3 separate regions of the Homo sapiens genome follow, and all the other regions are linked to region 1. Evidence: promoter capture Hi-C in 16 types of primary human blood cells and fetal thymus (Javierre and others, 2016). All regions are on one chromosome and are shown on one strand. Each heading gives the region's core, a stretch centred on a gene start or on the middle of the fragment in contact. The rest is flanking DNA. Distances are from core to core; before and after follow the strand shown.

Region 1 (2,766 bases), core at 155-2,654:
TATAAAATCAACTCACTAAATTATGATGGAAGCTAAGGAAGCAATTATAGAGTTTGTAATTTTCCTTTAAAACACGCCTGATTATATTTTAAAAGAGTCCTCGGTGGCACAAGAATACTAACATTTAAATTCACCATTTCTCATGTTTATCCACACACTCTAAATCTGGGTATCCCTCAGAGGATCCTGTAATTCCCCAAAGGAAGTCTGTCTTCTTTACTGCATCCTCAGTGGGTCTTTTCTTCCTTAGCTGCTGGCCTCAAGAGCATATAGCTGGTCTCTCAGCCCCCTGAATACCCTTCCTCTTCTCTTCTAATTTTTATGTATCCTAAGCAGCCACTGCAAAGCTGTTCTTTAAGACTGCTTAGCACAAGAAGTCTCCTGTGACTTATGCCTGCCTAATAGGTGAGGACAAGACAGGCAGGAAAGCCAGAGCATCCTATGAGAGAGGCCAGTGCCAGGGACTGGCACTTCTTGATTTCTTCACCTGGGCTTCATTAATTTTTATATCCTAGGACTTGAGCTTTGTCCTTGTGACTGTGTGTGCTTAGTGAAAACTGAGCAGTAAATCAGGCAATTGATATGAACCTCTCTGAGTCTGCCTTTGGTACCAGATCTATCGGCAAGAGCACCACATGAAGTCAAAACTTCCATCCTCCAAGACACTAAAATGAAATCCTCCCCAGCCAGGGGTCCATTCCAGGATGCATGTCCATACACGTGTACAGTCTGCAACCATCCACAGAACCACACTCATGATGAGGAGACAAAAGATGGGCCTCAAAAGGAGACCTCTGAGTGAGGATGCCAACTTTCCTTTCTGCATTCCTTGGTTCCTTCAGCAACAAAGATTAGTCTTGGCATCACTGCCTGCTTGGCGACCAGAACAAAGAGAAATAAGGAAAATTAGGGACACAGGAAAACCTATGGGCACACATAGATATGGAAACTCAGAGATAATAGAAACTTAAAGAGATACATGGAGAGTGAATATTCTGCCTCCCTATAGAGCCTTTTCCATCATCCATCCACCCAAGCAATGCTGACCTGAGTGCCTATTTATCAGGCACTGGTCTTGGCCTTGGGGATAAACAAAGATGGAGGTGAAAGTCTAAAAGCAGACACTGGAGGTGGGAAGAGCAGTTGACGTGGCCCTAACAGGGTTCCCACCACGGCGGAACGCACAGACAGGGGACGTGGGGGAAGACGTGACCCTAAAAGGGTTCCCGCCACGGCGGAACGCACAGCCAGAGAACGTGGGGGAATTCATGAAGCGAACCTCCTGCTACCTCAACGCCGGTGAAGGTGAAGGAGACACCTGCGCGTCATAGAGACTCCGAGACCTCCAGGCTTCCTAGAGAGGCCCGGAAGTGGCTCCAGGAGGCAGGTCCGACGGCTTCGGCGCCCCAGCTGTGGTGATGGGTAGCTAGGAGGCCTGGGCCTCTCTGCCTGCTGTAGCCGTCTGCCGCGCCCTTGTTCCTGCAGCTGTGAGTGGGCCTGGGCTGGGGTTGGGGGGCCGCCGCCCTTCCGCGGGGACCCTGGACCGCCTCGGCCTGGAACGCGACAGGTGGCGGTCCCGGGGGTGGGGGACGGTGGTGAATGACTGAGCAGGGTGGCGGGAAGGAGTATCCCCTTTCAGATGTCTTCCTGATCCCAGGGGACCGGGCGCAGCTTGGCTTTCTAGAATGTCGCCAAGGCCTCAAACACTGGCCCTCCGCATTTTTTGTTTTTAAGGACATCGGGGCCCCAAGCTCCGAACTTTCCACAGGTGGCTGGCTATACTTGATTCCTGTCTTTGATTTTCTGCACACTTTGGGAGAACGATTACCTCCTCTTTATCACTTGGTTCTGGTTTGCCACTTAAAAGTGGCAGTGACAGGTTCCCATTTAAACTGCATGTATTTGTTGGGAAAAGGTAAGTAGGTTTAAACAAAACCTTATAGGCTAGTCATAATACCAGATGAATCAGATGTGACAGAAATTGTGGAGGTGGAGTGAGCCCTGAAAATCTGAGACGGGTCTCAGTTCATTTAGAAAGTTTATTTTGCCAAGGTTGAAGACATGTACCCATGACACAGCCTCAGGCGGTCCTGACGATGTATTCTTAATGTGGTCAGAGCCCAGTTTCGTTTTCTACATTTTAGGGAGACATGAGACAAGAACAGATGTAAGATGAACATGTTTTTCGGTCTGGAAAGGCGGGACAACTCGAAACGGGGAGGGGGCTTCCAGGTCATAGGTAGGTAAGAGACAAATGGTTGCATTATTTTGAGTTTGATTAGCCTCTCCAAAGGAAGCAATCAGATATGCCTTTATTTTAGTGAGCAGAGATACATGAATAGAATGGGAGGCAGGTTTGCCCTAAGCAGTTCTCAGCTTGACTTTTCCCTTTAGCTTAGTGATCTTGGGACCCCAAGATTTATTTTCCTTTCACAGTGATAAGATAATGACCTAAGCGAATCTGTATTGTCCCAGCCTTATTGTGCGGCATTACATGTAGTGGTTAAGAGTCATACAGACCCGGCTTCAAGTCCTGAACCCTGCCCAACCCCTTATGACCTGCATAATTTGTGGGCAAGGTTCCTAACCTCTGATCTATTTTCCTCATTTCTGAAAGCTGATGATAATACTAGTAACAACTTCGGAAGATTGTCCTGAGGCTTAAATGCTAAACCTTTAAACTACCTGTATTAATCCATTCTCATGCTGCTAATAAAAACATACCCAAGACTGGGTAATTTATAAAGTTAAGAGGTTTGATGGACT
Region 2 (2,766 bases), core at 132-2,631, 670 kb after region 1:
AGTCAATGGACTGTACTGAATGAGTAATGAATAATCATTTAAAAAGAGCTAAGCTAAAGGGTTAATAACTGATCATTTTTTCCTTGAGTGAGCCTATGAATCAATAGGCCTTTTCTATGTTCTCTGTCCCCACCTCAGGAGGCTACAGGATCATACATGTAAATTTCTTGGAAGTCTTAATATTCTTTTTAATTATTACATGATGTCAATTTACAAACTCTCCTAGAAAATGCAGCAACCTTAAAATATCACCTTGACAATTTTATAACACTCTAAAAAAAATTAGAAACAATAGAAAGTATTATAAAAATGGATCTCAGGTGTTCAAATATAAATACTATGCATGTCACATTGTTCCGCGTTTTCTGTTTCTAGGGCAAGACATTTCCCCTCTCTGCCCCGTCTGCTGATCTGTAAACAGAAGAGATTAAGGTGATTTGCAATCTCTTCCATCCCTGAATATTTCTTGACTGAGCTGCTGAAACCAGCTACGTAGAATTACTGCAGAGACTCAGCCCTGAGACCTACCCTAGTGAGTCCTAGAGGCTTAACTCTGGCCAAATCAATCAGTACTTAAGGATTTATAATATACTTCTTGCACATCATGTGGTCTAAGTTTATTTTTCTCCCAAGCACCCATCCTTTGGCCAAACTTTTTAAAAAATTTTTCTGTTCTTCTGTTCTATTAAAGTAGAGCAGGAAGTGAAACAATATTCACGTTACTTTTTCTTGACAATATGGAAAAAAGGACATAAGAAAAGTCGTTGGCTACTAGCTAATAAAGAAGATGGTATTATTCAAAGTTTTACATCCATGAAAGGGGTCTACAACTTGTAAGTAATTAAAATTGAGCCAAAGTCATCCACTGGGTACGTATAGTCCCCTTCTTGCTTCCAAAATGCTGGAAAAGTTCACTGTGTCTAAAAGCCACAACAAACCACCCAGGTAATAGGCCTGGTCATCGTCTTCCAAGAATCATTTTAGACGTGACTGAATGGGGCTTGACATAACAGTGATAGAGAATAAGTCTAAGTGACTTTTCTTCCCCTCTGATGTAAAAGCTTGTCTCCAATAAAAGCAAGGAAACATATTTAAATAGAATGCAAGAGAATGTAATGTTCACGAAGTCGAGATTTGCAGAAATTTGGGGGTGATTCATGGGCATTACTCATGATTTCGAATGAATCATGTCATCATGTCACCTTGGATTGTGTAGCTATCAGGAACGGACCCTGAGATATTTGAAGAGGGGCCTGTGTAGCCTCTTCATTTACCTGCTTATGCCAAACTAATAATTCACATTCCTGTAGGGAATTTGTTTCACAGATGCCCTCCAACTGCTTTTTTGTCTTCAGGAGCTCCTGAAAGCACATCAAAAATAGACCTTCAGGGAAGAGGATTTTTAGGGCAGTGAAACTACTCTGGGTGATACTGTAATAGTGGATCCATGTCATGACACATTTGTCCAAACCCATAGAAGGCACACCACCAAGAGTGAACCCTGACGTCAACTACAATCTTTGAGTGACAATGATGTGCCAATGTAGGTTCAGGAATTGTAACAAATGTATACCACCCTCGTGTGGTATACTGATAATGGGGGAGGCTGTGCATGGGTAGGGATGGGGGAAAGGGGATATATTTGTACTTTCCTCTCAGTTTTGCTGTGAATGTAAAGTTGCTCTAAAAAATAAAGCTTCTGGCATGGTGGCTCACACCTACAATCCCAACACTTTTGGAGGCCGAGGTGGGAGAATCACTTGAGCCTAGGAGTTTGAGACCAGCCTGGACAACAGAGTGAGACCTCCTCTCTACAAAGAAAATTAAAAAAAAAAAAAAAATTAGCCAACTGGGGTGGTGTGCACACCTGTGGTCCTAGCTAATTAAGAGGCTGAGGTGGGAGGATCGCTTGAGCCCAGTAGGTCGAGGCTACAGTGAGCTGTGCTCATGCCACTGCACTTCAGCCTGGGCAACAGAGTGAGACCCTATCTCAAAATAAATAAATACATAAAAATAAAAAATAAAAGGATGTTTTTAGTACCCATTCAACTTAAATGAAATATCAATTTGCAGTTAATGTTTCCATCAACAGATGGCCTTGTCTCACACAAGCCTTTTACAGCCCACTTTTGTGGGTGGAAAAATACCAACCCCTCTATCTCACAGTTCCTGCCATCCAAGAATTCCATCTACATGGAAGAAGAGCATTTCCACAGACGTCTGAGACACAACCAGAGGTCTCAGAGGGAAACCCAAGGAAGCTCCTCAGCAGGTAGTGGGGTGTGGACTGGGTGCCAGGGGCCTACAGGTGAGCTGCCCTCCATACAGCTCCATGAGCTACACAGGCTAACACCAAGGTGCTCTTCCTACAGGATTTGTCCTGTCGGAAGACATGTTAGAGGAGTGCTGAGGGTAGGAGACAGCAACAAGACACAGGATGGTCTTGGTGACCTGCCTGGGAACCACCATCAGCCTCACACTGGTGCACTGAGAGCAAAGGGCATAAGGCAGGGGAAGGGCAGGAACCCGCATGGGGCACCCACCTCCTCTCACTGAGCTCAGAGCTGGACTCTTCACTATTTCCTTTTAATTTTTCTCTATTCATTTCTCTCTGCCACCAATTCTTTTTACCTAGATTACGGTTTTTACTCACCAAAAAAACTTTTTTCCTCACACAGATCTTAGAATGACTCATCATTTGAATGGATTTTTTTTTTTTTTTTTTTTGAGACTGAGTCTCATTCAGTTGCCCAGGCTGGAGCGCAG
Region 3 (2,766 bases), core at 83-2,582, 640 kb after region 1:
GAACCCAGGAGGCGGAGGTTGCAGTGAGCTGAGATCGCGCCATTGCACTCCAGCCTGCTGACAGAGCAAGACTCTGTCTCAAAAAAAAGAATGAAGAACTATCACAGATTAAAGGAGTCTAAGCAAACACAGTATCTGAATGCAAGGTAGAATCCTGGATTGGATCTGGAAACCGAGAAAAAAGACATTAGAGTAAAAGCTGGTGAAACTCCAGTAAGTCTGTAGTTTACTTAATAATTTTGGACAACATAAATATCCTGGTTTTGATGCTTGTACTACGGTCATGTAAGATGTTAACACTAGGAGAAGCTGATTGAATGGCTTATGGAAATGGGAACTCTTTAACTATTTCTGCAACTTTTCTACAAGTCTACAGTATTATTCCAAAATAAAAGTTTTTTATTTCTTTTTCTTAAAGAGTAAATCTAGACCCTGCTATGTAATAATAATGTTCCCTCAGGGTAATGTAAATGAACAATTGTCTGTTAATAGCTAACAGGCATAGCCAGGTCACAGTGGACTTCAGGAGGACCTTGGGAATGCATCTAAATGGTCTTAAGAGTTACCAAGGTCCAGGCCTACCCTCACTGGAGCACACAGTCATATGGTCATCACTCCATCATCCCTACTCTATGCTGTGAAGCAGCCAGGGCATCTCAATGTCAAAGAGAAATGTACAATTATTTCCTGAAGAACACCATTTTTATTTCAATGAATACTCTTCCTAGACTCTTCTAAGGCAGGTGGCTTCCACATTTTGAATTCCAATAAACACAAAAGTCTAATGACCACAGAACAACTCAGAAACAAAGCTAAGCACCATGTTTCTAAAGCCGTTCATCTACATTTGATTCAACTAACATCTGAATGTTGATGGGTGTCAGGTAGTCTGCTGGGACTGGGATACAGATTTTGGCCCCTGCCTCCCAAATGCCTCCAATAAAATGGAAAAGGGAAAAATCTAAAAGCTTGTGCTGAAAGTGAAAATGGAGGCCCTGAACACACCTTTGAAAGATAATGTTTGAAAAACATCAAACTACAATACTGGTTTATTCACATTTCACGTCTTCAGGCCTAAACATAAATAACTACATCTCGGCATTTAAGTTCTTCCCAGATTCTGAATGAAACCAACCAACATAGTTCATCCCCGGAATGACTGTATTAACCTAAGAAACTGGACTACATAGATGATCTACCAGGTTTTGTCCCAAGCACATCAATGATTCAGTTCCTGGGTTTCAGAAAAATACGCGTAGGTGATCTATTTTAGGTAAAGACAAGGCTTCAAATGAAACAGAACTAATTTGAAAATTTAACTGAATCACATCTTCAGGTGTTGCTGCTTATAAAACAGGTATAAAAGGCCATGAGGTTTTACATGTCATTTATCATCTCACCGACCCTGAACAATTTAGCTATCCTAGCCTGCTTCCTCATCTGTCGAGTGAGATACCAGATACCATCAACAACCTCAAATGACTGTTGTGAGGATGAAATGAATATCAATGTAAAGTATTTTGCATAGTTTCTAGTACTTACAAGGTATCATTAAACGATACTAATTTTTGCAATGAACAAGGCAATATCATGTCTTCAGTTATAATGTTTTCAAACGGGCTTGTCAGTACATGGGGGCTATAATGATGCACCCTCTGGTAACTCAGAATTAAGACTGCCCTGAGTCTGAAGCTTTAAAATACAGCATGGATTACAACAGTGAACTTCAGAGACAGGGAAGTAGAAGGGGAATGACAGGAAAGGAGAGAGGAAGAGAGCTATAGAGGAAAAGAGGGCAATCAATTGAGGAGAAAGGAGAGGAGGAAAGAAAAAGAGAGCTGTAGTGAGGCGTCTGCTTCCAGTATGGCAGAAGTAACTCTTAACAAATGGCTCCTCAGTTGCTCCAAGTGTCAGCCGTAAACTCTGGACAAACTACAACTACCTGAGCACTCTGGAAACTGAAGAAAAGCAGGTAGATTCTGGAAAGAAATGGAAAGTTAATTGAGCAAGCAACCCATATGGACTAAGTTTCCTGTTTCTTGGTAGCTTTCTCTGAAGGCAGCCTCACTGGGGCAGCTCTGGATAGCTAAACCCCTAGAGAAAATATGGCCATCTTTCTGGCTACAGGACTCAGCAATCAGGAAAAGGGGTCTTGGGGCAACCAGGATCTCCAAAGTGTGGTGGAGAACCTGAGAAAGAGGAGAGGTAGAGAAGCACCCCTCAATTTGTGCGCATCCACTCATCTCAAGTCTTCAACTAACCCTGGAACCATCTATGCTTATGACCGAGGCTTCGAGAACTGGACTGAGATTTCAGCTGCCACCCATGGCAGGTGGCACAGCTTGCAATTTAAGTCTAACCAAGTCAATTGCTGACTAAAACTCAGAGCAACACTCTAAAGCAATATAAGAAAATTCAAAGCTTCAAAAACATAATAGTAACCATATCCAGGATTCAGTCCAGAACTCCTCAACAGAAGAAGAGCCAGAAAAATTAGAACCCATTTCTCAAGGGAGCAAACAATCAATAGACGCCAACTCTTGAGATGACTCAGATACTGGAATTAACAGGCAAGGACTTGAACACAACTACCACAGTGATGCTCAGTAAGGGAAAGGAAAATATGCTTGTGATGGAAAGATAGGAAATTTCAGCACAGAAAATTTAAAAACCTAAAAACAAAGTACACAAACATTTTAGAATTACTAACATAAATAAATAACTAACATAAATTTGAAATAAAAAATTCACTGGATGGAAATAACA

The links. The method cuts DNA at HindIII sites, captures the fragments that hold promoters and counts their contacts. A CHiCAGO score of 5 or more calls a contact.
Region 2: a contact is called between a fragment that was not itself captured here and the fragment with the promoter of SDR42E1 in region 1, in 1 of 17 cell types (naive B cells). The highest score is 8.1, in naive B cells.
Region 3: a contact is called between a fragment that was not itself captured here and the fragment with the promoter of SDR42E1 in region 1, in 1 of 17 cell types (total B cells). The highest score is 5.1, in total B cells.

The regions. Positions count from the first base shown.
Region 1 is chr16:82,010,108-82,012,873 of GRCh38, reverse strand. SDR42E1 (short chain dehydrogenase/reductase family 42E, member 1) reads left to right here and starts at 1,404. Exons shown (of 3, transcript NM_145168.3): 1 at 1,404-1,487. RefSeq lists enhancers at 1,060-1,139, 1,150-1,239 and a silencer at 1,480-1,629. The HindIII fragment of the contact is 9,437 bases long and covers 1-2,766 here.
Region 2 is chr16:81,335,708-81,338,473 of GRCh38, reverse strand. The region is part of intron 1 of GAN (gigaxonin); the gene reads right to left. Among named protein-coding and RNA genes, the nearest start is that of GAN, 22 kb to the right of the region's middle. The HindIII fragment of the contact is 635 bases long and covers 1,064-1,698 here.
Region 3 is chr16:81,371,076-81,373,841 of GRCh38, reverse strand. The region is part of intron 9 of GAN (gigaxonin); the gene reads right to left. Among named protein-coding and RNA genes, the nearest start is that of MIR4720, 13 kb to the left of the region's middle. The HindIII fragment of the contact is 724 bases long and covers 971-1,694 here.